3 separate regions of the Homo sapiens genome follow, and all the other regions are linked to region 3. The links are contacts of gene promoters, found by promoter capture Hi-C in human tissues and cell types (Jung and others, 2019). All regions are on one chromosome and are shown on one strand. The core of a region is centred on a gene start or on the middle of the fragment in contact, and the rest is flanking DNA. Distances in the headings are between cores, read along the strand shown.

Region 1 (2,700 bases), core at 49-2,548, 320 kb after region 3:
GTTCGGCGTTCACCTACGGTCACTGGTCTGGAACAGGACCAGGTCTGTGTGACCGACCGCAGGCTTTACATTACCCAGGGCAGGCCAGACGTGGTGGATCATGCCTGTGATCCCGTGTTAATTCCCATCTTGGGAGGCCAAGATGGGAAGACTGCTCAAGGCCAGGAGTTTGAGACCAGCCTGGTCAACACAGTGAGACCCCCATCTCTATTTCTTACAATTAAATGATATTTTTGAAATAAATAAATAAAACTACCCCAGGCAGAGTCCCAGGCCCTGACTCGGCAGGTCTGGAGTTGGGCCTGAAATCACATTTTAAATAAACAACTTGGCTGGGCACGGTGGCTCACGCCTGTAATCCCAGCACTTTGAGAGGCTAAGATGGGCGGATCACTTGGTAAAACTCTGTCTCTACTAAAAATACAAAAATTAGCCCAGCGTGGTGGCAGGTGCCTGTAATCCCAGCTACTCATGAGGCTGAGGCAGGAGAATCGCGTGAACCTGGGAGGCGGATGTTGCAACGAGCTGAGATCGCACCACTGCGCTCCAGCCTGGGCGACAGAGTGAGACTCCGCCTCAAAAAATAAATAAACACCTACAATTCTATAGCCAGTGGACAAGGTCCCCTGGCCCAGGCCCATCCTCTGGCATCCTCTGGGGGCAGGAGGCAGGGCTGGTATCCTGGGCCCACAGGCATCTGGCTGGGGATGGAGGGGACGGGGACTCACCATCTGGTCGGCCAAGAGCAGCACCGTCTTGAGGCTGAATTTGCGGGAACAGAAGTTGAACAGGTCCTCGAGGCTAGGCCCCAGCAGCTCCATGACCATCACGTTGTAGTCGCCCTCAGCTCCGCACCACTTGATGGACGGGATCCCCACTGGGGGTCAAGCAGAGGGCCTCTGTCAGGGGTCAGAGGCAGGCAGCCAGCCACGCCCGGCCCACCCTGTGCTCATGGCTGCCCACCGCCACCCACCCGGCGCCCGCCGCCGCCCACCCTGCGCTCACCGCCACCCTGCATCATCTTGTAGAACTTGCTCTCGATGTGCAGCTGGGGGTGCTTTGTCTTCACACACTCCAGCTTGATGGCGACTTCCTCACCAGAGGCGATGTTGGCACCTGCCCGGGGCAGGGAGGCAAGGGACCAGGGTCACCCTCAAAGGCCAGGCAGTCCCAGGCGCCCCACTAAGCATTTCTGAGATCTGGCGTGTGCCGGGCCCGGGGCCATCTGCCCTTGAGGAGCTCTTGGGGGAGGCTGGGAAGGGGGCAAAGGAGCCCCGGCAAAGGGTTCCTGAGGGGAAAGAAGGTCAGCGCTGTGAGGGACAGAGGTGACACACAAGGGCTACCCAGGGCCACAGGTTGGGGCGACAAGAAGGCCCGATGTGAGTGGGGCAAGGGTCAGGTATGCAAAAGGCTCACAGACCACCTAAGGGAGGGGGCTGAGTCCTAGAGCAAATTCAGGCAGTGAGGTCTGTCGGGTTGAGATGGTGGCACGTGCAGAAGAGGCCCAATGGGGCTGGGCTGCCGAACACACCAGAACAAGCCAGGACCACCCTGGCCTACAGGATGAGGATGGGACAGCCGCAGCAACCCCTCAGTCAATGCTGATGCCTTCAGAGGCAGCCCTGCACATTCTAATCCAGTGTCTCATTCGATTCTCAACCCCCTTGTAGAGATGAGAAAACAGAGACCCAGCTAGAGACCCAGCTCAAGGTCACCTGACCTGTAAATGGCGGCCTTGAGATCAACCCCGGCTCTGCTGGCCTCCAGCATAGGTCAGAGGTCCTGCCTGCACCTCCCCGTCTCCCCCAGTCCACTCCTGGCTTCTCAAGGGGCTCTAAGAAAATACCCTCACACACACCAAGGCCCCGCTCTCTGCCTGGGCCCACTGCCCAACTCAAGAAGTCACAAGAAAGACCAAGCCCAAAGTGTACCTTGCCTCAGTTTCCCTGGCTGTATGGGTGGATGAGATGAAGGGCTGGGGCTAGGCTGGGCGACAGGGTGTCTCCTTCCTGGGGCCAGCAGCGAGCCCAGCAGGAGGAGTAGGACAGTGTCGCAACAGGACACAAACAGGCCAGAACAACCCCCAGGGACACAGCCTCAGGAGGAGTTCAAGACAGGAGAAAGGCAGGACCTCACATCAGAGGAAAAGATGAGACTGTTCATTAATAATGTCCCTGAACAACCGGCTGGCCACCTGAGAAAAGACACCATGGCTCACACCACAACCAGGAGAAATCTCAAGTAGAGGAAAAGTTTGTATATAAGAAATAAAGGTGTGGGTGTGAGTTGGCACAGCCCCTGTGCACCTCTTGGGTGAAGCTGAACATAAACAAACGCTCGCCCAAGCAACCCCACTCCTGAGTGTACATCCTTCAGAAACACGTGTGCACCAGGGGGACAGGACAAGGATGGACACAGGAGCAAACAGCCCAAGTGCTCAGCAGCAGAAGAACAGGAACAGTGGCGCAGTCACCAGGGAATCCCAGGCGGCAGTGAAGAGGAAAGGATGCCTGCTTCACACAATGACCCTGGTCCCAGGGGTGCACTCCTCACAGCAGCCAGAGGGTGGAAACAACAAACATCTGTCACAGATGCAAGGATGAATGGAATGCAGTGCCTCCATGCGGCGGAATATTATTCAGCAATAAAGAGGAATAAAGTACCGATACACGCTACGACACGAGTGCACCTTGAAAACAT
Region 2 (2,700 bases), core at 23-2,522, 280 kb after region 3:
ACCTGCTTCTTCCCTCGGCAATCCACCTTGCTGCTCAATCCGGCACAGTGCGTTGAGCGTCCATCTTATGTATTATGGCCACGCGGTATCCCATGTTTAGACGGGCCATGGTTTGTTCATTGGCCCCTGCGAATGAACATTTAAGCTGCCTCCAATCTTTTGCTATTAAAAATAAGGCAACAATGACGAACCTTGCAAATAAATCATTTTGCACACGTGTTAACCCATCCGTAGAATAAATTCTGGGAGGCAGAGCTGCCGGTGAAAGTATAGAAACATCTGTAATTTTGGAAAATATTGCCAGAGAGGCACAGTACATTTAAATTGTTCATCCAAGAAATGAGCCTCAATGTTGGGGGAAATATAGAAAATATGTAGGTTTCTGTTTGTTTTTTGAGATGCAGTCTCGCTCTGTCTCCCAGGCTGAAGTGCGGTGATGCAATCTCAGCTCACTGCAATCTTTGCCTCCCAAGTTCAAGCGATTCTTCTGCCTCAGCCTCCCGAGTAGCTGGGATTACAGGTGCGTGTCACCACGCTGGGCTAATTTTTGTATTTTTAGTAGAGATGAGGTTTCACCATGTTGGCCAGGCTGGTCTCGACCTCCTGACCTCAAGTTACCTGCCCACCTCGGCCTCCCAAAGTGCTGGGATTACAGGCGTGAGCCACCGCGACCAGCCAATACATAGTTTAAAGTTGTCCAAGTGAAGAAACGGTAGAGAAAGGCTGTTTTCAACAAATGGAGCTCTGGGTAGGGACACGGTGCTGAACCCACACCGGCCCCAACTCACTTGGTGCTCTGGTCCACACGCTTGCATTTCCCAGCTGTCAGTAAAAGGCTAGGCCCACTTGGCCCCTTGACCCTTCTCAGGGCTCTGATGTCCTGGTCCCAGGAAGTGTGAACGGTGACCTGAGCCACTATGACAAGCAGCCATAATTGGTCTCCCCAGGCGCCCATGAAGATGAGCAGGCAGGCCAGGTGGGAGGGGGTGGGGGTGCAGAGCCCAAGAGGGCCAAGTGCTTCCAGTCTAGCCATTCCAGATGAGTGGTGAGCACCTCTTGCCACATACCCTGCACAAGCTGCAGGGGACACCACAGCCATGCAAGACCACTCCCACTCCATGACATTCACTCAGCTGGCTCTGCTCCTGGGTCCATCACAGATCTGTTATGTAACTCCTGTGCCCAACAGCCATCACCACCTAAGCATCAAGCCAGGGAGTTGAGGAGATGGAGGCGGGTCTCTGGAAGGCACACCGAGTATCAAGTCAGGACAGCCAACTCTATGTAGAAGCAGGGCAGGCCTTTCTCCCACTTCCACAAATCTGGCCCAACTACTGCAAACTGGGAAAAGAAGGAAAAGTCTTCTGCCCCCGGCCGAGTAGGAGATACCTCTTAGCAAACCAAAGGAAGCATTTGAGAGAAAGAACCCTTGTCAACCTCATCTCCCAGCCCAAGCCGTGCTCCCACTGACTGAGACGGCCAGGCACTCCAGTAAATCAAATCATACTTACATGCTCTGAGGTTACTGCTATTAAAATTATCTAACCTATGCATCCTGCATCTACCTTTCTTCTCAAAGCAAATATGTACTGTTTTGGAAAATCTAGATTTTCCCACATCCTATTTAAACTCCATTGACAAATCTGTGTATAGATGCACTTTCTCCTCCTGGAGATGAGGCTAGGACCCCACATGCTCTGGGAAGTGGTCACGAGACCTCTGCTCCTTGAGTAACCTGCCTGTCTCATTCCTCTGTGTGTGCTCAAGGTGGTCCCACTCCCTGCAAAGACCTCCTGCACTTCACCTGCCAACCTCCACTGTCCACTGAGCCTCAGCCCAACTACCCTTGTTCCAGAGAGCACCGGCTCCTCAGCTCACCCCCAGGCAGAGCCGACTGCTGCCTCCTGGAACCCCCATGGTTTTAACCTGAAGCTTTATTCACGTGCTTTCCAGGTCTAAGCAGCAATCCAATACACTGGCCTTCCCAGTGTGGCTGCAAGCTCTCCAAGGGCAGGTCTGTGTTGGGGGTAGCTACTCAGCAGGAAGGGCCCAGGACTCAAAACCAGAAAACCTGGGTGCTTCCTCCCCCAGGATCTTAGGCAATTCACCCCTCTGAGCCTCAGTCTCTCCATCTATAAAATAGGTGCAATAATTTCAAGGTTTCAGGGCAGTTAAAAGGATTACATAAAACCATATATTTGAAATATAACTTGCAAAGCCCCACAAATTCCAATGAGAATATTAATATAACTAGCATGTTAATATTAATTAATATCCTCACACATACCCTTCACCAACATCTATCATTGTGCCTCGCAGGCACCCAAACTGACTGCTGATGGGATCCCAGATTCACTGCTCACTCTGCATGAAACAAAAACCACAGGCGCTAGAGGTGGGGACCAGGAGGCTCTGCCAGTAGCTACAGCGGCGCCATGGGGTTAGTTATTTTCTCTCGGAGCTTTTCGGTAAATGGGGAACAGCCCTGCTGAGTGGAGTGGAGGTTCTCAGCCACTTGCCAGCAGGAGAGGCCCCATTCTGGGTGCAGGCAGTCCACAGGGGTTGGAGCAGGAGATAAATAAAGGTACCAAGCTCCACACACGTCCCTTGGAGTAGGGGGGCTGTCTGATCTGAAAATCCCTTTGAGGGTAACAGAGGCAGTAACTTCCGGAGGTCTCACTGCACCCCCTCTGTTGGGGA
Region 3 (2,700 bases), core at 106-2,605:
AAGGGCGGGCGCGGCCCCCACACCTGGTCTTCCAGCCCTATCCAAGGAGGACTGCCAGACAGTCCCGCTCTGAGGTGCAGGAGGCCGGGCCGCCTCGGCTACCCTGAATCCACCCGAAGCTAGAGGGCCCGAGCCCGGGGGGCGGTCGGGTGCTCACCTCCAGAGCTTGCCCAGCGTCTTGCTGAGCTCAGCGTTGTGCAGGTGCGGGTACTGGTCCGCGAGCTTCCTGCGCGCTGCCTGAGCCCACACCATGAAGGCGTTCATGGGCCGCTTGACGTGCGGCTTGCTTTTGCTGGCGCCGTTGACGCGCACGGGCATGGGCACCAGCGTCCAGTCGTAGCCGCTGAGCACCTGGCTGACGGCCTCGCGGATGCACACGGGGAACTTGTCATCGTCCGCCTCGCCGTCCTGCTGCTCCTTCTTGACCTTGCCCAGCTCGCCTGGCCCCGGGCTGGCTCGCAGGCCCGATCCGCCGCCGCCGCCGTCGGGCCCTAGCGAGGGCGCGCTCCCCGGGGACAGGCAGCGGGGCTCCTCCGAGCCCACGGGGCTCAGCTCCACCTCCGATAGGTCCTGCTCCTCCGCCATGTCGCCCCCGGCCGCCGCCGCCGCCGCCTCGGCCGCCTCCCCCGGGCCAGCCGCCGGGGTCCTCGCAAAGAGTCCAACGCCCACCTGGATGGAAGGAGGGCGCGATGGAGCGGCCGCGCGCGCAGCCCCGAGGGCGGCCCGAGACAGGACGTGGGCACAGCCCCGAGGTGGCGGCCCTTCCTGCTCCAGCTAAACCCATCTGGCCCCTGGGGCCCACGCACATGCCAGACTCTAGGTGGGTGCGTCCCGCCTCTGTGTCTTCCCACCACCTGGTCCCAACCGTCTCTTGGTGTGGGTGGCTTTTTTTTTAGCCTCCTTTTTTGGGTGGAGGTTTGTTGATGATAAGGAAGAAAAAAACGGAGCCTTTATTTTGCTCTAATCCCGGCCCCTGGAATTTCCCACCTTTTCTCTCACCTTTCCTTCTTCCCTCAGCCTGCCCCAACGGGGTTTAGAGGAGAGCCAGGTGGGGGGCAAGGGCGGGGTGTCGCCTCTCTCCACCTCACAGCAGGGTCCCAGGCCTGGGCGGGCCAGGGAGGAGCAGGCTGCGCACTCACCTCCTCGGACCTCTCCTCCAGTCTGGGGCTCGTCCTTAGGAAGTGGAAAACCGTGTCCCAAGGTGTGCGGTCCAGCTCGGGGCTGGGAGGTGACGCTGGTGGGCTGGGAGGGAGGGGCGGGGGGCCCTGAGCCTCAGGCCACGGCCTCGTTAGGACGGAGCCTGAATCCTTACCACCAACCACCCTGGCCGGACAGCCCGAGACTGACTGAGCGACTGAGCCTGAGCCGCTGCGGAGGGCTGGGGAAGGAAGGAGGGGGAGAGGGGGGAGGGGAGAGGAGGGAGGGAAGGGCAGAAGGTGGAGCCTCCAGGCTTTCCTTCATCCCCAACACTCAGGGCTCCTCCACCCGGAGCCCAGGCCCCCCCACCCAGCTCCCTGCCCTACTGCCCAGGCCCATCTTGCTGAGGCTTATCTTGGGCTTAGTCTGGGAGGTGGAGGGGAGGTTAGGCCGAGGAAGGAAGAGATGTAGGCTGGAGGGTCAGAACCTGTTGGATGGAAGAAAATTGGGCCCAACCAGGACTCCTAACGTCTGCCTCAGGTGGCAGGATGGGCACTTGGCAGGGGACTAGGGAGAGACGTGAAGGCGGTGAGGGTCCTGGGGGCCCGTGAGGGTGGCTGGCCCTAGCTGCTTCGTCTGCGAAATCCTGTTGAGTGCCTAGTGTGTGCCAGGCACTGATGCCCAGCTCCTCACCCTGCCTCCTACCTTTTCCCAGGCAGCCCTTTCTGCCCCATCCTGCACAGTAAGAGAGACTTCTCAGGGATCCCTCTGAGAAGTGCAGAGCCCCAGCTTGACCCCTGGTCCCTTCTCTGCAGACACCCAGCACACGCGCGTTCTGGTCTGGTTCAAGGTGGAAACACAAGACTAAAGCTGCCAGGAGGCCAAGGTGGGACAGGTTGGGGGCCCTCTCTCAGTAGGTCTTAGAGGCATTTTGGGTTGCTACCTACTGGGACCCAGCTCCTTCCACACTGGGCTCACCCTGTCTTGGGAGAGGGTAGGGGAGTCCTAGTCCTGATTGTCACGAAGTCCTCTACTCCCCCACCCCAACAAGGGGTGGGGACTTGCCCTGCCTCTTCCCTCCTCTGCCCACCTCTCCCTCCCTCCCCTTTTCTTTCCTGCCCATCCTCCGTTGACACCTTTTTCTCTCTCTTTCCTTGGCCTCTCCTCCAAAGGTCGCAGTGCTGTTCTCTTAACTGAGGGCAGCCCCGCCGGGGTGTTGAGGCCGAGGTGGGGTGTATGTGGGTTATGTAATGGAGCTGGGGTCGCATTGGCAACCATGTGACGTTCTGAGCTCCTCAACAGCAGGGCAAAGCCCCAAGACCACCCCAAGGGGTCCTGTCTGGAGTGGGCTGCAAAGGGTCTGGGGAGGCAAGGCCTCATGCTTGGGAAAGTCCAAAGGGGTGTAGGGGGTGGGAAATGGGACACAATGAGGTAGTCACACGAGGCAGAGGCATGTTGGGGGTGGGGGGAGCAGACACTGGAACACACACACACACACACACACACACACACACACATGCTCACACACACAACCAGCCAGACAATCGGGCCAGTGTGTCTGGG

Evidence for each region. The method cuts DNA at HindIII sites, captures the fragments that hold promoters and counts their contacts. A contact is called where the count stands out against the background at its distance.
Region 1: a fragment that was not itself captured here is called in contact with the fragment with the promoter of SOX10 in region 3 in 5 of the 25 tissues and cell types used here (aorta, dorsolateral prefrontal cortex, liver and 2 more).
Region 2: a contact is called between a fragment that was not itself captured here and the fragment with the promoter of SOX10 in region 3, in 5 of the 25 tissues and cell types used here (dorsolateral prefrontal cortex, hippocampus, lymphoblastoid cells and 2 more).

The regions. Positions count from the first base shown.
Region 1 is chr22:38,302,133-38,304,832 of GRCh38, forward strand. It overlaps TPTEP2-CSNK1E (TPTEP2-CSNK1E readthrough), which reads right to left. Exons shown (of 15, transcript NM_001289912.2): 7 at 1,006-1,116; 8 at 729-877. CSNK1E (casein kinase 1 epsilon) reads right to left here. Exons shown (of 11, transcript NM_152221.3): 3 at 1,006-1,116; 4 at 729-877. Among named protein-coding and RNA genes, the nearest start is that of CSNK1E, 14 kb to the right of the region's middle. The HindIII fragment of the contact is 4,513 bases long and covers 1-2,700 here.
Region 2 is chr22:38,263,428-38,266,127 of GRCh38, forward strand. The region is part of intron 1 of TMEM184B (transmembrane protein 184B); the gene reads right to left. Among named protein-coding and RNA genes, the nearest start is that of TMEM184B, 8.2 kb to the right of the region's middle. RefSeq lists an enhancer at 459-959. The HindIII fragment of the contact is 7,395 bases long and covers 1-2,700 here.
Region 3 is chr22:37,983,200-37,985,899 of GRCh38, forward strand. SOX10 (SRY-box transcription factor 10) reads right to left here and starts at 1,356. Exons shown (of 4, transcript NM_006941.4): 1 at 1,140-1,356; 2 at 158-669. The coding sequence starts at 585. It also overlaps a transcript of POLR2F not described here. RefSeq lists enhancers at 1-462, 2,417-2,700. The HindIII fragment of the contact is 28,697 bases long and covers 1-2,700 here.